Linked DNA regions of Homo sapiens: all the other regions are linked to region 1. Evidence: promoter capture Hi-C in 16 types of primary human blood cells and fetal thymus (Javierre and others, 2016). All regions are on one chromosome and are shown on one strand. The core of a region is centred on a gene start or on the middle of the fragment in contact, and the rest is flanking DNA. Distances in the headings are between cores, read along the strand shown.

What was found. Contacts are between HindIII fragments. The CHiCAGO score rates a contact against its expected background, and 5 or more counts as called.
Region 2: a contact is called between a fragment that was not itself captured here and the fragment with the promoter of NTN1 in region 1, in 1 of 17 cell types (naive CD8 T cells). The highest score is 5.8, in naive CD8 T cells.
Region 3: a fragment that was not itself captured here is called in contact with the fragment with the promoter of NTN1 in region 1 in 3 of 17 cell types (naive CD8 T cells, total CD4 T cells and naive CD4 T cells); the score reaches 6.8 in naive CD8 T cells.
Region 4: a fragment that was not itself captured here is called in contact with the fragment with the promoter of NTN1 in region 1 in 1 of 17 cell types (endothelial precursors); the score reaches 5.4 in endothelial precursors.
Region 5: a fragment that was not itself captured here is called in contact with the fragment with the promoter of NTN1 in region 1 in 2 of 17 cell types (naive CD8 T cells and naive CD4 T cells); the score reaches 5.5 in naive CD8 T cells.
Region 6: a fragment that was not itself captured here is called in contact with the fragment with the promoter of NTN1 in region 1 in 2 of 17 cell types (endothelial precursors and megakaryocytes); the score reaches 7.4 in endothelial precursors.

The regions. Positions count from the first base shown.
Region 1 is chr17:9,019,497-9,023,387 of GRCh38, forward strand. It overlaps NTN1 (netrin 1), which reads left to right and starts at 2,014. Exons shown (of 7, transcript NM_004822.3): 1 at 2,014-2,089; 2 at 2,815-3,891. The coding sequence starts at 2,878. RefSeq lists silencers at 1,376-1,425, 1,476-2,265 and an enhancer at 1,412-1,955. The HindIII fragment of the contact is 7,248 bases long and covers 1-3,891 here.
Region 2 is chr17:8,388,979-8,392,869 of GRCh38, forward strand. RNF222 (ring finger protein 222) reads right to left here. Exons shown (of 3, transcript NM_001146684.3): 3 at 1,724-3,891. The coding sequence ends at 3,821. Among named protein-coding and RNA genes, the nearest start is that of RNF222, 6.9 kb to the right of the region's middle. The HindIII fragment of the contact is 6,206 bases long and covers 1-3,891 here.
Region 3 is chr17:8,405,385-8,409,275 of GRCh38, forward strand. No RefSeq gene overlaps it. Among named protein-coding and RNA genes, the nearest start is that of RNF222, 9.5 kb to the left of the region's middle. The HindIII fragment of the contact is 2,555 bases long and covers 620-3,174 here.
Region 4 is chr17:9,562,328-9,566,218 of GRCh38, forward strand. The region is part of intron 2 of STX8 (syntaxin 8); the gene reads right to left. Among named protein-coding and RNA genes, the nearest start is that of STX8, 12 kb to the right of the region's middle. The HindIII fragment of the contact is 606 bases long and covers 1,554-2,159 here.
Region 5 is chr17:8,481,056-8,484,946 of GRCh38, forward strand. MYH10 (myosin heavy chain 10) reads right to left here. Exons shown (of 43, transcript NM_001256012.3): 37 at 3,083-3,211; 38 at 267-355. LOC107987245 (a long non-coding RNA gene) reads left to right here and starts at 355. Exons shown (of 2, transcript XR_001752780.3): 1 at 355-1,133; 2 at 2,515-3,891. The HindIII fragment of the contact is 160 bases long and covers 2,048-2,207 here.
Region 6 is chr17:9,532,716-9,536,606 of GRCh38, forward strand. All of the region lies in intron 4 of STX8 (syntaxin 8), which reads right to left. Among named protein-coding and RNA genes, the nearest start is that of STX8, 41 kb to the right of the region's middle. The HindIII fragment of the contact is 5,861 bases long and covers 1-3,891 here.

The DNA of each region.
Region 1 (3,891 bases), core at 764-3,263:
ATATTTACATTTGCATACATGAGAAAGCCTATTTATATGTGTTACAGACCTGCAATATGTATGTCTATATCCCATCAGCTATAATATTCAAATGTGTCAACTCACGTGATGCTCACAACCCAGTGGGGTAGAAAGTATTATCTCCCTTGTACAGATGGAGGAAACCAAGGCATAGACTTTCCATAGTCACACAGCAGAGGCAGAATTTGAACCCAGGTACCCTGGCTCCGAAGCGTTTCCTCCTAAGAGCTATGCTGCCTTTCAGTATACCATTGCGATTTCACAGGTCACCATGGTTAACCATTTCATTTATTTCCTTTGACCTCACTTTTAATTTGTTATTGTGTCATATTTTATGTACCCTTGTAAGTTACCTGAAATCCTTTCTGCCACAAGGTGAGGTAAGGCATAAATAAACAGTGCAGAGTGTGGTAAACGGCACAAGAAGGCACAGCTAAATTGCTACCCCGGGGTAAGAAGATGAATCCAGGCTGTCCTGCAATGGAATGGATTTATTTTCTTGAGCTGTGGTGAGCTCCCATCCCTGGAAGAGCTGGCTTGGGTGGCCGTCTCTCTGGGAGGCTGGGGAAGGCCTTCTTCCAAGGAGACGGAGCTGGGCCAGACGAGCCCCGAGGCCCCTTCTTAGATTCTCAGGGTTTATGAAAATGCCAATAAGACAAACTGAGGCACTTAATGGAGCTAATGCAGCAAGGCAGCCCTTGGGCCGGAACCAGGACCTGGGGCTTTTCATCCGGGTCTATTACTGGACCACACATCTACAAGTAACAAATAAACGAGCAGAGATTCCGTTCCAAACTCTCGGCCCAGTGTATTCCTTTCCCAGAGCTCTCTGGCTGCTGTTGCAAGATGACCAAAGGATGCTGTCACTGTCCTCAGTCTTTTTATTGGGGCGATGGAGAATGAGGCAAGGAGGGGCTGGGTGGCCCCGCAGATGCCCCATGACACCATCATTCGGCAAGGTTATGCATTTGACGAATGCCCTGCAGTGGAAGGAGCCCAGGCTTCTCTTCCTGTTTTTGATGTTTACTTGGGGGTTGATCTTGTGCGAGTTTCTTCAGCTCCCGGGACCCTCAGTTTCCTCATCTGCAAAATGGAGTTAATACAACAGCAAAGCTGCTGTGGAGGTCCCATGAGCTATTACAGGGCTTTGCACCCTTAAAAATGCGGTTGAGGAAGTACCGATACGCCTGCCTCAGGGGATCTGGGGAGGGCTGGGCTGTCCCCATGCCTGAGACCAGGCAGGCCCGTCTTGGAGGGGCGGTGGCCAGCGTCCAGGTGCTGCCAGCTTCCTACCCCTTCAGCCTCCTGCCCACCACTGCTCCCTTGGCTAGAACGAAGCCGCGTTCCCGACAGACAGGCTCACGCACGGTGATATCCGTGGGAGTGCGGGCGAGCAGCCCCTCCTCGCCGGACCCCGGGGGCTTCGGGCAAAAATGGAGAGCAGGCAGAGGTCACATCCTCCTCCTCTTCCTCACGCTCCCGGGCTGCGTGCCCACAGGGGCACAGCCCTGTGCGCGGTGCCACCGGGGGCCATCAGGCTGGGTTAGAGGAAGGCCCGACCTCCGCGCAGCAAAGAAAACAAACACAGATGTGTTTGGCTGGGACCGGGAGGGAGAAAGTGGCCCCCTTCCCCCGCCCGCGCGCTCCCCCGGGCGTGAGGCTCTCCGGGCGGCGCGGGGCGCGGGCGAGGCTGACAGTCCCCGGCGGCCCCTCCTCCCCCACGGGGTGCGCGCCTGGCCCGGCCCAGCCCCCTCTCCGGGGTTTCCCCGGGTGCTCTCCTCGCTTTCTCTTTGTCTCTGCTGTTCTTTCTCGGGCTCCCGGGTTCCCACCCGCCTGTGCTCTCCCTCTCGGGCGTCCGGGCCGGTTCCCTTTAACTTTCTTCTTTCCCGGGGTGAAAACTTTGCTCGGAGCTGGCGGCAGCTCGCGGACGTTATTGGCCGGCGCCCCGCCCGGCGGCCCCGCCCCCCGCCCCCGCGCTCCCCTCCGCCCCTCACTCCCAGCGCGAGTGGCGGCGGCGGCGGAGCCTTCGGGGGCGAGCGCGCGTGTGTGTGAGTGCGCGCCGGCCAGCGTGAGTGTGTGTGCGCCCCGGGCGCGGGCAGGGCAGCACTCCGAGCTCGGCGGGAGCGGCGGGAGCCGGGCGGCCGCGTAGTCACTCGGGCGAGAGAGGCGGCGGCGGGGCCGGGACCGGGGCTGGGGCTGGGGCAGCGGCGGCCGCGCCGGGCATGGAGCTGGCAAGCCCGCGCTGAGGCGGGACGCGCCTGCTAGCAGCGAGCGAGAGGCTCTCCGGCGACCGGCGCGCGGGCTCCCCGGAGGGGCCAGGCAAACTTTTCTTTCTCTTTTGCCCCCTCCAGAGGTAAAGTCCCGAACGCGGACTTTCCGGCGGGGACGCGATCGGGGGGCATCTGAGAGGGACCCCGGGCTGCGAGACGAAGGGGCGCGGGCCGTGCAGAGTCGGGGTCCCCCAGCTCTCCTGCGCCCGAAACTTGGGGTGCGAGGGGGGCTGGTCGCGGACGGGGAGACCGGCTCAGGCATGCCCCTCGGGCGGCGTGGGGGCGGCGGTGGCGGGGAAGCAGAGCGTTCTCCCGCCGGGCGGGGAAGAAGGGGCGCGAGCGGTGCGGACTTGGAGGGCCCCGGCTTCGCCGCCCGCGGGACTTTGGGGGAGAGAGGCGGGCAGTCGGCTGCGGGGTGGGTGCCCAGGAAGCCGGGCGTTCTCCCGCATCTCCGCTCGCCACCCCGCCGAGAGCTGGAGGGCGCGGGGCGGGCTGGCTGAGCGCAGCTCCCTTCTCTCCGCAGGCGCCTTCTGCGGCAGGCGGACAGATCCTCGGCGCGGCAGGGCCGGGGCAAGCTGGACGCAGCATGATGCGCGCAGTGTGGGAGGCGCTGGCGGCGCTGGCGGCGGTGGCGTGCCTGGTGGGCGCGGTGCGCGGCGGGCCCGGGCTCAGCATGTTCGCGGGCCAGGCGGCGCAGCCCGATCCCTGCTCGGACGAGAACGGCCACCCGCGCCGCTGCATCCCGGACTTTGTCAATGCGGCCTTCGGCAAGGACGTGCGCGTGTCCAGCACCTGCGGCCGGCCCCCGGCGCGCTACTGCGTGGTGAGCGAGCGCGGCGAGGAGCGGCTGCGCTCGTGCCACCTCTGCAACGCGTCCGACCCCAAGAAGGCGCACCCGCCCGCCTTCCTCACCGACCTCAACAACCCGCACAACCTGACGTGCTGGCAGTCCGAGAACTACCTGCAGTTCCCGCACAACGTCACGCTCACACTGTCCCTCGGCAAGAAGTTCGAAGTGACCTACGTGAGCCTGCAGTTCTGCTCGCCGCGGCCCGAGTCCATGGCCATCTACAAGTCCATGGACTACGGGCGCACGTGGGTGCCCTTCCAGTTCTACTCCACGCAGTGCCGCAAGATGTACAACCGGCCGCACCGCGCGCCCATCACCAAGCAGAACGAGCAGGAGGCCGTGTGCACCGACTCGCACACCGACATGCGCCCGCTCTCGGGCGGCCTCATCGCCTTCAGCACGCTGGACGGGCGGCCCTCGGCGCACGACTTCGACAACTCGCCCGTGCTGCAGGACTGGGTCACGGCCACAGACATCCGCGTGGCCTTCAGCCGCCTGCACACGTTCGGCGACGAGAACGAGGACGACTCGGAGCTGGCGCGCGACTCGTACTTCTACGCGGTGTCCGACCTGCAGGTGGGCGGCCGGTGCAAGTGCAACGGCCACGCGGCCCGCTGCGTGCGCGACCGCGACGACAGCCTGGTGTGCGACTGCAGGCACAACACGGCCGGCCCGGAGTGCGACCGCTGCAAGCCCTTCCACTACGACCGGCCCTGGCAGCGCGCCACAGCCCGCGAAGCCAACGAGTGC
Region 2 (3,891 bases), core at 769-3,268, 630 kb before region 1:
TTTGTACATCTTCCCAACTTCCTTCCTTCCTTCCTTCCTTCCTTCCTTCCTTCCTTCCTTCCTTCCTTCCTTCCTCCCTCCCTCCCTCCCTCCCTCCCTTCTGCCCTTCTTGTCTTTCTTTTCTTTCTGTCATCAAGGTCTTACTCTGTTGCTCAGGCTGGAGTACACTGGTGCAATCATAGCTCACTGCAGCCTCCTGGGCTCAAGGGACCCTCCCACCTCAACCCCCTGAGTAGCTGGGGCTACAGAGGTGCGCCACCACAAGGTAATTACAATTTTTTTTAAAAAATAGAGATAGGGTCTCACTATGTTGCCCAGGCTGGTCTTGAACTCCTGGCCTCAAGTGATCCTCCCACCTTGGCCTCCCAAAGTGCTGGGCATGAACCACCGTGCCCTGCATTCCCACTTTTTTGATGCATAAGTAAGCAAATAGGAATGTAAATTCTTATTCCCCCCCCTTTCTTTCTTTTTCTTTTTTTTTGAGACAGAGTCTTGCTCTGTCGCCCAGGCTGGAGTGCAACGGTGCGATCTCAGCTCACTGCAACTTCCGCCTCCTGGGTTCAAGCAATTCTCCTGCCTCAGCCTCCCTATTAGCTGGGATTACGGGCACGTACCACCAAGCCCGACTAATTTTTGTATTTTTAGTAGAGACAGGGTTTCACCATGTTGGCCAGGCTGGTCTTGAACTCCTGACCTCAGGTGATCCGCCCGCCTCGGCCTCCCAAAGTGCTGGGATTACAGGCGTGAGACATTGTGCCTGGCCTATTTCCTGCTCTTTCTATACAAATTGTAGTATCCAGTATCCGGTGTTCCACACCTTGCTTTTCCTCATTTTCCATTGTACCTTGGAGACATTCCATATAAGTTTATTGAGTCCTTTCTTGTTCTTTTTTTTTTTTTCTTTTACAGCTGCATGATATTCCCTGGACCTTAAGATAGATAACCAGTACCCTATTGATTAGCATTTAGGGTTTTTCCAATCCTTTATTTTTATAAACAATGCTGCAATTATATAGCATCACATGTATGCTGCTGCCCATACATGCAAGTATATCTGTAGGATGTTTCTAGAACAGGAATTGCTGGAGCAAAGCAGAAATTTTGGTAGATAATGTCACATTGCCCTTGATAGGGATTTTAATAATACACATTCCCACTAACCATTCCTCTGCCTCCCTCAGCTTCAGTAGCGGAGTGGGTTATGAGGCTTCCAGGTTTCGACAAGCTCATAGGTGAAAAATGGCATGCCAGCCAAATTTTAATTTTAATTTCTTTTGCAACTGTGGTTGAATAGATGTGTAAGAGCCATTTCTGTTTGCATTTCAAACTTTTTCTTTTCCTTTCTTTCTTTTCTTTCTTTCTTTTTTTTTTGAGACAGAGTCTCGCTGTGTCACCCAGCTGGAGTGCAGTGGCATGATCTCGGCTCACTGCAACATCCACCTCCCAGGTTCAAGCGATTCTCCTGCCTCAGCCTCCCGAGTAGCTGGGATTACAGGCGTGCGCCACCATGCCCGGCTAATTTTTTGTATTTTTAGTAGAGATGGGGTTTCACCATACTGGCCAGGCTGGTCTCGAACTCCTGACCTCGTGATCCACCTGCCTCGGCCTCCCAAAGTGCTGGGATTACAGGAGTGAGACACCGCATCAAACTTTTTCACCTAAAGTGAATTGTCCTTCAAGTCCAGGCTCGGAGCTTCCCACATAAATTGCAGAGTCTCTGGAATCTTTGAGAAAATATATACCTTTATTTTAAAAATAGCTTTTGGCATTCTCTGACAATAAAAGGAGTTGCAGCTACAGGTCACCATTGAACATACAAAAACACTGAGAGTATGTTGAAAGAAACTTTTGGCAAATACGACAGAATCTGAAAAGACTAGAACCAGGTTCCCAGAAATTCATGACACTGTTTAAAACAGCCTGGCTGAGGTTAAAAGAGACTCATTGGAGTCTTTGCAAATTTAACATTATTTTTATTCCTATAATAAATATTTTCCCCATGGAATCCATCTGTATCCCTCCCCTCCAATAGCACCTGTGCTCTTCTGTAATTTTTTTTTTTTTTTAGACAGAGTCTCGCTCTGTCACCCAGGCTGGAGTGCAGTGGCGCGATCTCGGCTCACTGCAACCTCCGCCTCCCGGGTTCAAGCGAATCTTCTGTCTCTCCCAGGTAGCTGGGATTACAGGCACGTGCCACCACTCCTGGCTAATTTTTGTATTTTTAGTAGAGACGCGGTTTCACCATATTGGCCAGGCTGGTCTCGAACTCCTGACCTTGTGATCCACCCACCTCGGCCTCCCAAAGTGCTGGGATTACAGACATGAGCCACCGTGCCTGGCCACTTCTGTAATCTTGAAATGAGCACAGAGAAGCCCACAAGTGCTTTTAAAGCAGCCCTCTCTATGTCCCAAATATCCCCTGTAGTGGGGCCCAATTCCCCAGCGGTCCCCAAATGACCAGCACTGCAGGCATTTAGGAACTAGATAAAACGTAGACTGCTATTTCTTCCCTCCCCACCAAGACAGCAAATTGCCCAGAGGGGTATAGGTTGAGGGAGGTTGGGGGCTCAGCTGTGGGCACAGCTGGGTGCAGACCACCACTTAGTTGAGATAATTGCTGGAGGTTTTTGTTGTTTTCCATTGAAAGGTGTTGGTTGACTTACGGACCTCAATAAACAGCCAATAGCTATCCCCGAATGACTCAGGCTAGACCCAACCTGAGGCTCTTCACAGTCCAACGTGGGGGCCCCAGGCAAAGAGACCTTGAGGAGCAGCTGAGGGCACCTGGGCCTCAGCATTTCTCGGTTGAGATGGCGGCGTCCCTGACAAGCACAGCTGTTTTCCTCCCCACCCTTCCTCACCCAGCCCAGCCTGGCAATCCACCTAGGAAACTGGCCCAGCTGGTGTGGCCTCTAAATGAGTGGCTGGGTCATGAGGAGGAGGACTAGCTGGGAGGGAGGCGGGAGCCCCCAGGGGTTCGTTTGCCCACATAGTTCTCAGCTGACTCAAGGCTCGCCTGTCAGGCTTCCCCTCCACTCCCTGCCACCCTTGAGAACCCCAGGACTCAAAGTTTGGATCCCTCCTTTGGCCTGGAGGGCTCAGGGAGACCTCTGGCTCCGTTCGTGGGGCACTCTGCTGGGGTGGCCTCTATCAACCAACCCCTGTCTCTGGATCTGGCCTCAGCTCTGCAGGAAGAACAGTTTCTGTTCATTCTCCCAGAAATTCTGGGGCAGCCTCTGAGATCAGCTTCTCCTTCAGGGAAGCCCTTCTAAGCTGGCAGGTTGGGGACAGGGAGGGTTAGGGGATGGGGTGCTGTGGTGGAGGTCGGGGGTGAGTGCTGAGATTCTGGGCGCCCCTTCTGTCTGTTCCCGAGGGCAAGCCGCAAATCCTGGGTGGGAATTCTGGCCTGGAGGATCCTGCCATCGGCCAGCCCAGCAGGACGTCTGCCTGCAGGACTTTCTTGTCCCTGGAGGGGCCCACCTGGCTTTGGGCAGGTCACCTGGCAGGTAAGGTCTGCCGCTCAGGGCTGGTGAGCCTGCAGGAGGGCAGTGACCACCCATCTTCCCAGCCTAGAGGAAGGGGAACGCATCTGCTGAGGATTCACGTGGGGAACACGCGCCGCGCGCATGGAGTCAGCTCCAGCCTCTCTGTCGAGCGGAAGCCCCTGCGGGGGTCGGGGAAGCCCAAGGCCCTCTCTGTGCCCAGGTCCTCCCCTCTGCCTGCCCGCGTGCCCCTCGGAGCTTGGTGGCACCAGGGCTGCCGTGGGCCTCCTGTCCCACCCCAGGCCACGGCTAGCCCGGCGGCCTCCCTGAGGTGCGGCTCACGCCTGCTTCCTCACCAGCAGCACCCAGGGCAGGATGGCGGCCACCACGGCCACCACAGCGATGAGCG
Region 3 (3,891 bases), core at 647-3,146, 610 kb before region 1:
GTTGTGGGCAGGCCTAGATTACCGACCAGGGCCCGGATAGGGGACACTGAAGGTTGTGTGCTGTTTGAAGACAGCCCTGTTGCCCTGAGTGCACATAGTTGGCCAGGTGGGGCCAGCTCCAGTCCTGGCTCCAGATGAGGATGGGCTCATGCAAGGGAGGCAGGGCGAGGCAAGCTGGCTGCCCTACGTGTGCTCAGCATGAAGACAGTGAGGCGGTGCACAAGGGCAGGAGGTGGGGGCACCTCCCAGCCATGAGTGTGTGTGTGCACATGACCCTTGACCCTCCTCCCACCGCGCCTCCACTTCTCAGCATCCTGCTTGATCTGGTGACTGTGGGCAGATGGGAAGGCCTCACCAGAGAGGGCAAAGGACCCCACAAGTATGGAGTAAAGTATGGCCGTGTCCCTAGGGAAGCCTACACAGAGGCCAGGGGACGAGATCTGCTGCTTCAGTGGCCCCACAGGATGCCGCTGGGGCGTCCCGGGTGAGGCTGCAGTCTCCACAGTGAGACCAGGGGATTACCCTGGGTTGGTGCAGCCCTGAGGGTCTCCCCACCCATTTGCAGCTGTCGGCTCTGGCCTGGCTTGCTCCAGCCAGCTCAAGTGTTTGCTTTGCCCCAAGCTTCCCTGTTGTTTCACCCTCCTGGGCTCTGCCCCATTATTACATAGCCCAGGACTGCTGGTAGAACCGGGGACACCTTGGACCTCTGAACAGAACACATAGAGGCGCCTCCCTCTAGGAAGTTAATTGGAAAAAGGCCCTCTTTCTTCTCTGGCTGTGTCAGGGCACATGGCTTGGCAGGCAGAATAGGAACTGATTTTCGTTCCCAATTCACCTGCTTTGGTTCCCAAGCTCCCCAGCCCAACAATATGCAGTGGCCACAGGTCTCACCCCATCCCATCCCCTCCCTCTGAAGACTTCCTCGGCTCCCCATTGCCCTGAGGCACAGCCCATACTCAGGGAGCCCATGAAGCCCTCACTGCTCTCTGGAGACTTGCTCCAGCCAGCCCCTCTGCTGGGCTATCTTTTGCTACACAGCATGGCCACAGCTCTGGCTTCCAGCTCAGGTCCCTTGAAGGCCCTGGGCTTGTGGGCCTCTGTGATCTTTTTTTCATGCTTTTTTTTGGGGGTTGTTTCCTGGCTGGAATGCCTTTCTACCTCATTACATCTCTCCTGGCATCTCCTCTACATCTTTTTTTTTTTTTTTTTTGAAACAGGTTTTCGCTCTGTTGCCCAGGCTGGAGTGCAGTGGCACCATCTCAGCTCACTGCAACCTCCACCTTCTGGGTTCAAGCAATTCTCCCTGCTTTAGCCTCCCGAGTGGCTGGGATTATAGGCATGCGCCACCACACCTGGCTAATTTTTGTGTTTTTAGTAGAGACAGGGTTTCATCATGTTGGCCAGGCTGGTCTCGAACTCCTGACCTCAAGTGATCTGCCTGCCTCGGCCTCCCAAAGTGCTCAGCATGAGGCTGGGATTATAGGCATGTGCCACCACGCCTGGCTAATTTTTATGTTTTTAGTGTGTGTGTACATGACCCTTGACCCTCCTCCCGCCGCAGATGTGCGCCACCGCCCTTGGCCTTCCTCTATATCTTTTAATACCTCGATGAAGGGAGATCCTATTTCACACATCTCTGTAGGCTCTGGCACAAAGACCCAGTATTATTAGAGCCCAATAAATGTTTAAGTAAAAAAAAGCTGCCTTCTCAAGCCTAACTCATGTGTGTTGGGCCAGTAGTGAGGTGAAGGGGGTGTTTGAGCAACACAGTCATTCTACTTTCCATTCTTTTTTTTGTTTTTTTGAGACAGAGTCTCACTCTGTCACCCAGGCTGGGGTGCAGTGCAGTGGCGCAATCTCGGCGCACTGCAACCTCCGCCCCCGAAGTTCAAGCAATTCTCCTGCCTCAGCCTCCCAAGTAGCTGGGATTACAGGCACCTGCCACCACGGCCAGCTAATACTTTTGTATTTTTTGGTAGAGATGGAGTTTTACCATGTTGGCTAGACTGGTCTCGAACTCCTGACCTCAAGTGATCTGCCCGCCTCAGCCTCCCACAGTGCTGGGATTACAGGCATGAGCCGCGGCACCCAGCAAAAACATCCATTTCTTAAAAATATCTTAAACATGGCCTGGCCTGGCACCGTGGCTCACACTCGTAATCCTGGCTCTTTGGGAGGCGGAGGTGAGTGGATCGCTTGAGCTCAGGAGTTAGAGACCAGCCTGGGCACCATAGTGAAACACCATCTCTACTAAAATACAAAAATTAGCCAGGTGTGGTGGAGCGGATCTGTAATCCCGGATACTCGGGAGGCTGAGCCATGAGAATTTCTTTTGAACCTGGGAGGCAGAGGTTGCAGAGATCGCGCCACTGCAGTCCAGCCTGGGAAAAAATACGAAACAAAACACAACCCTTAAACATAAGCATTCATACCTTTAACAGCCTCAAATATAAGTGTCTGTACCTTAAAAATATAATTAGGGGCCGGGCACGGTAGCTCACGCCTGTAATCCCAGCACTTTGGGAGGCCGAGGTGGGTGGATCACGAGGTCAGGAAATTGAGACCATCCTGGCCAACATGGTGAAACCCCGTCTCTACTAAAATACAAAAAATTAGCCGGGCGTGGTGGTGCGTGCCTGTAGTCCCAGCTACTCGGGAGGCTGAGGCAGGAGAATCTCTTGAACCTGGGAGGTGGAGGTTGCAGTGAGCGGAGATTGAGCCACTGCACTCCAGCCTGGCGACACAGCAAGACTCTGTCTCAATTAATTCATGAAACGGTACAAACTTTAATTAATTAATGCAAACTTCTAAGTATAAAAAGGTTCACTTGTGTACCATCTGAAGTGCCACTCATGCGGACTCTGGCACGAGTGGGTGAGAGCTGGCGCCCACGCAGGGGACAGAAACTTGGGATCCCAGAGCTAGAAACAGGCGACTCTAGAACTTTCCGTGGCTGAGCCCAAGGCCCGGGTGAAATGCTTGACCCGAGAGCCCTTTCGATGGGAAACCACTGAAGTGGATCAAACAAAAGAATTCAGAGAAAAGTAGCTTGGACTCTTTCAACAGGATGAAACTAGCAAGGAAGGACGGTGACCCGAGGGTGCGGGCTGGGGAGGAAGTGGAGACAGCAGGGCGGGACACCAGGTGAGCAGAAAGGGGCTGAGTCATGGCCCAAGCTTGTGCCAGCCGGGGCAGCGCGGGGCTGCACTCCTGGCACCCACCTCACGGATTCCCTCTCACTGTTGTCAAGTGACCCACTCCCGGGGCAGAGATGCTTCAGGACAGGCGGGGGAGGGAAGCCACCAAGACAGTGGAGAGGTTTGTTCTCAGGGACACGGCAGCATTTGGAGAAACAGTGCTTGACGTGAGCTGGCCGCCTTGGAGGATTTTCTGAGTTGGCAGTGTTCATCCCAGGGCTTAAATCCTCCCGGACAGCTAGGAGGCCTCAATTCTTGAGACAGGTAAGGCCCGGGTCAGGGACAGAGTTCAGAGTAAGAACAATCTTATTTTCGGATGATAAAAATAGCACTACTATTGAAAAAAAATGTGGAAAATTTTAACACACACATAAACACACACGCACACACACACACACACACACACACACACACAATACAAGCTGTACACCACTTCTACAGAAAACTACCATTAATATTTTGGTGTTTATTCCAGCGTGCATATATATATATAGCCATATAATATATAATTATGTTAAAATGTATAGTTGTATTTATACATATGATATATAATTATTTTTAAGATAAATGAGGTCACATTGTATGAATGCTTTTGGGACCTTTTTTTTTTTTTCAATTGTTAACTTTTAATCCCAATAAACATTCTTTTAGATCCTCTTTTTAAATAGATGTAGTAATTTGCTTAATTAATCTC
Region 4 (3,891 bases), core at 607-3,106, 540 kb after region 1:
CCCGGGAGGCGGAGCTTGAAGTGAGCCGAGATCGCGCCACCGCACTCCAGCCTGGGCGACAGAGCGAGACTCCGTCTCAGGAAAAAAAAAAAAAAACTTTCACACGACAAAACTACCACAAGCAAGTCAAATGTCAAATGATAAAGGAAAGGAAATAACTACAATTTATCACGAGGAGCTAATCTCCATAATACGTGAGGAGCTCTTAAAAGATCAAGACTAAAAAGGCTAATAATCCAGTAGAAAAATGGGCAAAAGACAAGACAGTTCACAGAAAAAAAAAAAAATATATATATATATATATGGCCCTTAAGCATATGAAAACACACTCCACTTGACTCATTATATGAGAAATACAAATTTAAAACGACACTGAAACACCATTTCTCACTTATGAGGTTAACAAAAATTCAGAAGATTCACACACCCTCTGTTGGCCAGGCTGTGAAGAAACAGAAGTGCTCACACATTGCTGGTGGGGTGGCAAGAGTGACAACCCCTTTGAGGGGGGATTTCACATCAGGTTAAAAAAAAAATTACATATGCCCTGGTTCTGAGAACTCACCTTTAAAAGACACCTATGCACATAATTTTTTTAAAGGACAAGGTTATTTACTGCGGTGTTATTCACAACTCAAGACTGGAAGCAATTTAACTGCCTTTCCTTAGGAGACAGGTTAAATAAAGAATGTTACATCTACGCAATAGAGTACCCATACAGCGCTAAAGAAGAACAAGGAATATGAAATGAAATGTAGAGGTTTCTATATTATTAAGTGAAAAGACCAAGATACAAAAGAGTATCTGTCATTCATTCATTCATCCATTTATTTATTTATTTATTTATTTATTTATTTATTTATTTATTTATTGAGACAGAGTTTCATTCTTGTCACCCAGGATGGAGTGCAGTGGCACGATCTCGGCTCGCTGTAACCTCCGCCTCCTGAGTTCAAGTGATTCTCCTGCCTCAGCCTCCCGAGTAGCTGGGATTACAGGTGCTCGCCACCACACCCGGCTAATGTTTTGTATTTTTAGTAGAGACGGGGTTTCACCATGTTGGCCAGGCTTGTCCCAAACTCCTGACCTCAGGTGATCCACCCGCCTAGGCCTCCCAAAGTGCTGGGATTACAGGCGTGAGTCACCGCGCCTGGCCCGAAAGAGTATCTTTTATATAAAAGGAAAAACATAACACACAGACACACAGAGACACACACATACACACGCATAGAGGCTTATTTCTGCATAAAGTAACACAGGAAGAATAAACCAGAAATTAATGAAAATGGTTATTTAGAAGAAGTAGGTTAAGAAAAGGTAGAAAAGAGAGGAATGGGAACAAGACTTTGAGTGTCACTTTTATATAATTTTGACTTCTGAACAATGTAAATGTTTTACTTATTTAAAATTAAATTAAAAAGTTGGAAAAAGCAACTCCTGAAAATGAATAAAAACAGAAACAAAGGATAACATAAGACAGAAAAAAAAAGAATCAATTATTGCAAAAGTCCTCAAAAAAATACTGGCAAACCGAATCCAGCAGCACATCAAAAAGCTTATCCACCACGATCAAGTAGGCTTTATCCCTGGGATGCAAGGTTGGTTCAACATATGCAAAACAAAAAATGTGTTTCATCACACAAACTGAAATAAGACAAAACTTACATGATTATCTCAATAGAAGCAGGAAAGGCTTTTGATAAAATTCAACACCACTTCACGTTAAAAACACTCAATAAACTAGGTATTCAAGGAACATACCTCAAAATAATAAGAGCCATCTATGACAAACCCACAGCCAACATCATACTGAATGGGCAAAATCTGGCAGCATTCCACTTGAAAACTGGCACAAGACAAGGATGCCCTCTGCTACCACTCCTATTCAACATAGTATTGGAAGTCCTGACCAGGGCAGTTAGGCAGGAGAAAAAGAGGAGAGGAGAGGAGAAAAGAGGTGAGAAAGGAAAGGAAAAAGGAAAGGGAAGGGAGAGAAAGAGAGAAAGGAAGGAAAAGAAAGAAAAGAAAGAGAGAGAGGAAGGAAGGAAGGAAAAGAAAAGGCATCCAAATAGGAAGAGAGGAAATCAAACTATTCCTGTTTGCAGACAACATGATCCTATATCTAGGAAATCTCATACTCCCAGTCCAAAAGCTCATTAAGCTTATAAACAACTTCAGCAAAGTCTCAGGATACAAAATCAAAGTGCAAAACATCACTAACATTCCTGTACACCAACAGTCAAGCCAAGGGCCAAATCAGGAATGCACTCCTATTTACAATTGCCAACAGAAAATAAAATACCTAGGAAGACAGCTAACCATGAGGTAAAGATCTCTACAAGAAGAACTACAAAACACTGCTCAAAGAAATCAGAGATGACACAAACAAATGGAAAAACATTCCATGCTCATGGACAGCAAGAAGCAATATCGTTAAAATGGCCATACTGCCCAAAGCAATTTATAGATTCAATGCCATTCCTATTAAACTACCATTGACATTCTTCACAGAACTAGAAAAAAGTATTTTAAAATTCATATGGAACCAAAAAAGAGCCCAAATAGCCAAGGCAATCCTAAGCAAAAAGAACAAAGCTGGGCCGGGCGCAGTGGCTCATGCCTGTAATCCCAGGACTTTGGGAAGCCAAGGCGGGAGGATCATCTGAGGTCAGGAGTTCGAGATCAACCTGGCCAACATGACAAGAGCCCATCTCTACTAAAACTACAAAAATTAGCTGGAAGTGGTGGCTCATGCCTGTAATCCCAGCTACCTGGGAGGCTGAGGCACGGGAATCACTTGAACCCGAGAGGCAGAGGTTGCAGTGAGCCAGGATCGTGCCACTGCACTCCAGCATGGGCGACAGAGCAAGACTCTGTCTCAAAAAGAAATAATAAAATAAAAATAACATAGCTGGAAACATCATGCTACCCAACTTCAAACTATACTACAGGGCTACAGTAACCAAAACAGACATAGACCAATGGAACAGAATAGAGAACTCAGTTGACCAGGCACAGTGGCTCACGCCTATAATCCCAGCACTTTGGGAGGCCGAGGCGGGCAGATCACTTGAGGTCAGGATTTCGAGACCAGCCTGGCCAACATGGCGAAACCCTCTCTCTAATAAAAATACAAAAATTAGCTGGGCATGGTGGCACACACCTGTAATCCCAGCTACTCGGGTAGCTGAGATGCAAGAATCACTTGAAGCCAGAAGGGAGAGGTTGCAGTGAGCTGAGATCATGTCACTGCACTCCAGCCTAGGTGAGAAGAAACACCGTCTCAAAAAAAAAAAAAAAAAAAAAATAGAGTACCCAGAAATAAGGCCACACGTACAACTATCCGAGCTTTGACAAAGCTGACAAAAACAAGCAATGGGGGAAGGATTCCCTATTCAATAAGTGGTGCTGGGATAACTGGCTACCACGTGCAGAAGATAGAAATTGAACTCCTTCCTTACACCACATGCAAAAATTAACTTCAGATGGATTAAAGACTTAACTGTAAAACCTAAATCTATAAAAACCCTGGAAGACAACCTAGGCAATACTATTCTGGACATAAGAACAGGCAAAGATTTCAGGACAAAGACATCAAAAGCAATTGCAACAAAAGCAAAAATTGACAAATAGGATCTAATCAACTAAAGAGCTTCTGCACAGAAAAGGAAACTATCCACAGAGTGAACAAACAACCTACACATTGTGAGAAAATATTTGCAAGCTATCCATCTGACAAAGATCTAATAGCCAGTATCTATAAGGAACTTAAGCAAATTTACAAGAAAAATCCACCCCATTAAAAAGCAGACAAAGGACACGAATAGACACTTTTCAAAGGAAGACAGGCATGCTGCCAAAAAAAACAGGAAAAAAAGCTCAACATCACTG
Region 5 (3,891 bases), core at 878-3,377, 540 kb before region 1:
TGGCGCACCCCACGGCTCCCCCCTGCGGTGTGCAGGGCTCAGCAGGACTGGCACGGGTGCAGTGCCCGTTAGTGCACACCACGGCTCCCACCTGCGGTGTGCAGGGCTCGGCAGGACTGGCACGGGGTACCATGGCTGAGGCAGCCCAGGCCCAGCGAGGGAGGAGCAAACCACCCGCTGATGCCAGGTGTGTGGACACCTCCAGCCTTCTCAGCAGTGCGCGTGCCTGAGGGCGAAGAACCCACCCCCGGCCGTGGGAGACTCACTTGCCAGAGGCGCTGTTGGTGATCTCGTCCGCCAGCTCATCTCTCTCCTGCTCGGCGTGTCGGCGGGCTCGCTCAGATGAGGCAAGTTCCTAAGCAGTGGAGACTGCGTTAAGCTCTGGCTGTGAATAGTTTCCTCACCTGTGGAATCTGACAGTGCCTGGAGCTACAGCGACCTTGCTCCTGTCACTGTTTACCTGCACCTCAAGCTGTCATTTAGATTTGAGAAATTAAACTGTCAAGAAAATCTGCTCGGTGCAGGCCAGCCAGGTGGTGTGTGGTGTCAGCATCTGACACAGATGTCCAGAGGAAAGTCTTCATTGCCATAAGGGCTTTGCTGTCACCTCCAACGTAAGAGGTGGCTATGTTCCTGCCCTTCTTGGAAAGCTGGTGCTTCTTAATATAAACTGAGCATGAACTTTATATAAACCCTGAACCCTAAGAAACATGAGCTATACCAACTGATGGCCCTGAAGTATCTTTCACATAAACAGTTTGAGATCAAGGACGCTGGCTGCACAGACCAGTGCGGATCCAGGCAGCTGTGCCGCAACAAGGATCAATGCTCCCATGGAGAGGAGGCAGGTGGGGGCCTCCGCAGGGGCTCAAGTGTTTGCAGAGCTGGGCCTCTAAGGTGGGCAAGGCCTCTTTCTTGAAGGGGACTGTGGCTCCACAGGGGGCTCTCAGAGGACTGGACAATGGGGACAGCCCTGTGCCTGCCAGCCCACGGGAGGAACTGCCTGATGGCTGCTTTTCCACAAACTTCTTTGGAAGGATGATTTGCCATGGAAAGGAGTCAAGGGTGCATTTATCTTATAAATGAGGAAACTGAGGCCCACCTGGATGAAGATACTGGCCCAAAGTCCCAAGGTTAGTCAGCAGCAAAAAGTCAGGGTTCCTACTCCCTGTCCAGGGCTCTTCCCACCAGCTGCCCCTTCCAAAAGATGCCACATTTGGCAAGAGCACACCTTGAAGGTGTCTTAGGAGCAGGGCTGCACGGGAGCTCCTCTGTCTGCTCCAGCACGTGCACCTGCCTTACATGAGTGTAGGCTGAAGGTCCTCTGACAGGCCTGGGTTCTAGCACATCCTGGCACACAGGGCAGGGTGGGAGTCAGGAAGGAAAGAGAGGCAGCTGACGGAATGTTCCAGGCCTGATCCCAGGGCCACTGACTCCAGACAGCTCTACCATCTGGCCTCTGGTGTTTTGTCTTCTTGGGCCTATGAAACACTCACTGTCCACTGGCTTGGGGGTGGGGCTCTAGGCAGACTGAGGGACCCACGGGAGAAAGGAAGGGACCCCGGGGCCTCTAAGCCAGATGAACGGAGGTGTTTGAGGGAAGGAAAAGTGTCAGAAATAGGGGGAAGGGCAGGGCCAGCTTTCCAGCTCAGTCTCTTCTCCCTAATGCAGTGTGAGTCAGGCCTTGCCTGAGAGTCTGAAAGAAACACTTTCAGAAAAAACAGTGTGGTACAGAGAATGCCTCTTGGACACTTGGGTAATGGCCCAGGAGCGCTCTCTAGGAGGCAGGCTCCAACAGCCACATCGCCTTTGGGGAAATGAGCATTTGGGGATCTCACCAATCAACTCCATGATGGATACATAGAGCTTACACATCTACTTCATTGATGAACATGCATCATTTTTAAGTACCCACGGAACACTTATAAAAACTAACGTGTTCTAGGTCCCAGAGCTCTTTCTCAGCATTCTCTGACCACAATGTGATAAAACTAGAAATCAACTTAAAAAACAAGCAAATGCCATACATTTGGAAATTTAAACCGCAAGCTTAAATTATTCACAGGATGAAGAAGAAACCATAATAGAAATTAGAAAAATTTAGAATTACATGACAATGAAATTACTCCACATCAAAATTTGTGGAACATGATGAAAACCGATCTTAGAGGGGAATTTACAGTCTTTTATAAACATATCAGACAAGAAGCTTGAGAGCTGATGAGCTAAGTGTCCAACTCAAGAAGTCAGAAAAAAAAGGAGCAAAAAATGGTGAGATAGAGGACAGCAGGACGAAAACCTCTTGAAGCTGGCTCTCAGGTTCTCTCTCAGGGTCGGCTCCGTGTTTACTGATCTGGTTTTGAGTTCCTTGTTCATTCCTGACACCTAGAGAGCCGTCCTCCTTTCTTGCAAGCTCAACTCTGCCTTTGCTAATATTTTATCCAATATTTATAGGTGTTTGTATTGGGAGTTTTTTCATATTAACTGATAATAACATTTAACTTACCTTTTCAGGTTTGAAGAAATGTTGATTATCCATCATTTATACGGTAATGTGTATATTTAAGTGTGCCTTGCACTGTTACAGTTCCTATATGCAACACTTTATCAGTCTCTGCTTCATGAGAACTTACAAGAAAGATAAATGAAGGAATAACAGGAATTCAATGAAACAAACTTCTCTCCTTTTAAGTTATCACATGAGTAGTGCTTCTGTGTAAAAACAAGGCAATTTTGCATCACCAAGGTTGGAGTTACACAGTTCTTGTGCTTATCAACACTTCCCTTTCCTGCACAGGGGAACAGGCCAAGAAGGTGGCCTGAAAAGCTACTCATCAGCTCCTTTGCCTTTTGCCAGGTAGAGGAATATATGTGAGCAGTGTCGAAGTGATAACTTTCTGTTTCCAAACTGAAGCAACAAGAAGGTTGAGGACCATATTAAAAATGGATACTTAAAAAAATAAAAAACAAAAATGTATACTGACATTACAGTGGGCTACAAATATATTAACTTTTTTTTGATCTTGGAGAAATTTCAAGGGCAAATATATTTGTTGAACAAATGGATAAGTAACAAACCAACCTCCTGCAATTGAAGGATTTCTGCTTCCAGACTCTTCAATTTCTTTTCACTCTCTTTGGATTGAGCAAAAATCTCATCTCTGGATGCACGAGCTTCTTCTAATTCACGTTGGTAATCCTTCATCTGAGCCTAAGATTAAATAAGAAGGTTTTGGGGTGGTTTACATTCTTAGTTTTAGTTAAAATAAAATTTTTTTAGAGATGAGCCCTGGCTGTGTTGCCCAGGCTGATCTCAAACTCAAGGCCTCAAGCATTGCTCCTGATTACAAGTGTGAGCTGCGGTGCCTGGCCCCATTCTTAGCTTGTAAACATGGTATTTTTTTTCTAGATTATAAAAGTAATATACATTCATTGTAAATATAAAAGTATATGGGAATGACAAGGATATCGTAAGAAAACTACAGATCAAAATGAAATCCCTTATGAATACAAATGCAAAAATCTTCAACAGAATAGTAGCAAACTGAATCTGGCAACATGTAAAAAGGATTATACACCATGACCAAGCAGGATCTATCTGAGGAATGCAAGGTTGGTTTGACAACCAAAAATGAATTAATGTAACCATATGATCATCACAATAAATGCTGAAGAAGCACTTGACAAAATCTAATACCCTTTCAATATAAAAATGCTCAACAAGCTATGAACAGAAGGAAATTTCTTCAACTCTGATTAAGGGCATCAATGAAAAACTGACAGCCAATATCATACTTAAGGATCAATGACCAAATGCTTTCCCTCTAAAAGATGAGCAACAAGACAAGGATGTCTGATCTTGCCACTTCTACTTAACAATGCAATAGAGAT
Region 6 (3,891 bases), core at 617-3,116, 510 kb after region 1:
AACCAAACCGACTCTTCCACCAAGAAGAGTCCCAAAAAATACCTCATCATATGACATATCTAGTTTCTCTCTCCAAGAAAAACATGGTCACTGTACACATTATATGGCTGGTATCAGACCATTAGTTAAGCGTATTACCCTAAACATTCTGCTTCATCGTCTTCAATATATACTGTGAAGCAAAAAAAAGATGATGCAGCATAAAGACTGGAAAAAAATGTGCTAAGGCAACATATATTCCAAATTTTTTTTATCAGTTCCTACTTCAAATACTCCCTTTGTCATTCTATCAGTCCTTGCACCAAATTATCTATTAACATTTCACCAGAATGTGTAGAAAAAGTCAGAAGCTACTACTTCTCAAAATAGAATTAAACAAGAATTAACAAAATATATACAAGATTATCTGTCTGCAGAAGAAACCAGCTCTATGAAACTGTATCAATGTGTCACGTTAAAATTGCTTGCAGGCTGGTCACGATGGCTCACGCCTTGTAATGCCACGGCTTTCGGTGGCCGAGGCAGGTGGATCACCGGAGTTCAGGAGTTCAAGACCAGCCTGGCCAACATGGTCAAACCCCGTCTCTAATAAAAATACAAAAATGAGCTGGGCAGGGTGATATGTGCCTGTAGTCCCAGCTACTTGGGAGCTGAGGCAGGAGAATCACTGGAACCTCGGAGGCAGAGGCTGCAGTGAGCCAAGATCGTGCCACTGCTCCAGCCTGGGTGACAGAGTGAGACTCCATCTCGAAACAAAACAAAACAAAAAAACCGCTTGCACTTCAAAAGTACTTCTCCTAAGCCTCTTCAGGAAGACAAGTGATAGGTGTAAACATCCCAGCTTCTTTAAAAAGTGAATTGAAGACTTAAAGTAATGACTAAGGTTCACTTGAGCCTAAATAAAACAACCCAAAAGGCCAGCGAGTGACTAACTCTCTGGGATTTCAATAAAAGGAGAAGTGACAAGAAAGAAGGTTCTTAATGAGGTCAAAGAATTGAACCTTGAGTCTCTGGTTCTTCAAGAAACTTCAAGAACAGCGTTGCTATTGCTTAGGGAGTTGCAGAGAAGGGTTGATACAGACACTACAACTTGCCTACCCAACATCAGTATGTCTCATCTTCCTTGTTATCAGAACCTCAATTTTGTTCAGGGCTCCACTGCTCAGAGACCATAACCTCATCCTCATTTTCAGCTCAAGAATATCTCCCTCCTGAACTAACCTAGTCAACCACAGCAACCCCATTCTCCCATCGTTTTTGGTATAACATGATCATGTGATACAATAGTCTATTTCTATTTTGAGCCAGAGTCAATTAGGCAGCTTCCAGGAAGCATTTCATTGCTCTTTAAAAAGAAATAACTGAAAAATACAAAAAAAGCCAAGATAAAAAAATGCTAAAAGCTATTAGAGAATTAAGAAAATGGCTTTAATATTAATAACGGACATTAATTATTGATAGTTTTCATATAAACAACAACAATAGAAAAGTACAATTTAAAAAACCTGGATTTAAAACAGCAACCAAAAAGATTAAAAAAAAAACAAATAAATTTGACCAAAAACATGTTAGACTTTTGTGAAGAAGACGTTACTGAAAGACCTGAAAAATGCCTTGGAGAAACAAACAAACAAACAAACAAACAAACAAATCCCACAATCTTGGATGAGAAAATTCAACATTGTAAAGGATTTCAAGATTTAACACAATCCCAATTGTTTTTAAAAGTTGTTCTCTCTTTTGGAATTACATTAGCTGATTCTAGAATTCATGTTAAAAAATAAGCAAAACTCGGCCAGGCGTGGTGGCTCACACCTATAATCCCAGCACTTTGGGAGGCCGAGCTAGGCGGATCATGAGGTCAAGAGATTGAGACCATCCTGCCAACATGGTGAAACTCCGTCTCTTCTAAAAATACAAAAATTAGCTGGGCATGGTGGTGCGCACCTGTAATCCCAGCTACTTGGGAGGCTGAGGCAGGAAAATTGCTTGAACCCAGGAGGCGGAGGTTGCAGTCAGCCGAGATTGCGCCACTGCACTCCAGCCTGGCGACACAGTGAGATTCTGTCTCAAAAAAAAAAGGCAAAACTCTTAAAAAGAAGTTTAATGGCAGATTTGTCCTATCACATATTAAAACTTAAAGTATCCATATTTTAGAAAATGTGGTACTAGCACATAAGTAGACAGAAGGACCAATGGAACACATTACAAAGTCCAGAAATAGATCAAAATACATATGGGAACGTATTCTATGATAATGCAGCATCTTACATCTGAAGATGAGAAGATGAACTACTAAGTAAAAAATATCGTCAGTCACAAAAATAGAATAGAGCCAAGTAGGAAAAACGTAGGATTCATACTCTTCACCAATTAAATTCCAAATGGATCAAAGATTTAACAGTTATAAAACCACAGAAGTACCAGAAAAAAGCACAGGAGAATTTCTTTATAACCTTGGTTCACTATAGTTATATATAATAATTACATAAAACTCTACTAAGATATTACTATATAAAACTCTCTTTATATGTTAGTCTGGAGTAGGATACAAAAGTTTAACAACTTTCTTTGGGAAAGACTGTTGGAAAACAGGCACTCACCTAAATTGCTGGCACAAGTCTAGAGGGGTTCTACCCCGCTAGAAAATAACTTGTGAAATGCTATTGAAATTACAAACGCACATACCCTCTGACCCAGCCATCCTACTTTTTTTTTTTTTTTTTTTTTTTTTTGAGACGGAGTCTTGCTCTGTCACCCAGGCTGGAGTGCAGTGGCGCAATCTCGGCTCACTGCAAGCTCCACCTTCCGGGTTCACACCATTCTCCTGCCTCAGCCTCCTGAGTAGCTGGGACTACAGGCACCCGCCACCACGCCTGGCTAATTTTTTGTATTTTTAGTAGAGACGGGGTTTCACCGTGTTAGCCAGGATGGTCTCAATCTCCTGACCTCATGATCTGCCCGCCTTGGCCTCCCAAAGTGCTGGGATTACAGGCGTGAGCCATCGTGCCCATCCTCCAGCCATCCTACTTCTAAGAACTCACCTAGAGATATACTTTCACATATGCAAAATCCCTCTACTATATTTTTGTAATAGAAAAAGACTGAAAACAATACTCGCATATATATAAGAGCCTAGTTAAATGACAGTAAATGCATACAATGAAATATTATAAGGCTACAAAAACTAATGACAAAACCTTACGTCACGATTGGGAAAATCTCCAAGATATTCGATCAGGTGACAAAAGAATGTTGCAGAATGCTATGTATGATATGTTACCATGTGTGTAAAAGATGGAGGGAGATAATATATTCCTATTTGCTGGTATGTGCTTAAGAGAACCCTAGAAGGATATGCCAAAAATTATTGAGAGTAATTACTTATGTTGAGGAGAAGGAGACATAGTGGGAAGATTTTTCACTGAATCCTGTTCAATGCTTTGCAGATTTCTTAGCCATATGAATTATATTACTTATGCAAAACACATTCTCCTTTCTCTTCTATTGTTATGCTTGGAGTGTGGCTGGGAACTGCTGTAGCTATTCTGAGACCACGAGAGGAGTCACTCGGAAGGGAAAGCCGACATCGAGTATCGGGAGATGAAGGGAAATGAAGAGACAGCAACTACCCGAAGCCCTGACGGCATCACTGGGCTGTCAATCAACCCTCTCACTTCTCTAACTTGCAACTTACTTCACGGGATGTTTTTCCCTATTTAAGCCATTTTGAGCAGGGTAATCTGTTATATGTGGTTGAGAGCAGCCAACTGCTATACTAGTCTAGAGAGCTAAACCCAGGCACCCCCTTAACAATCGTCAGTCAGAGTGGGTCAGGACAATAAGCACAACCTGCTTTTCCAGACTCCTTTGTCCTCCTCCCTGAATGCT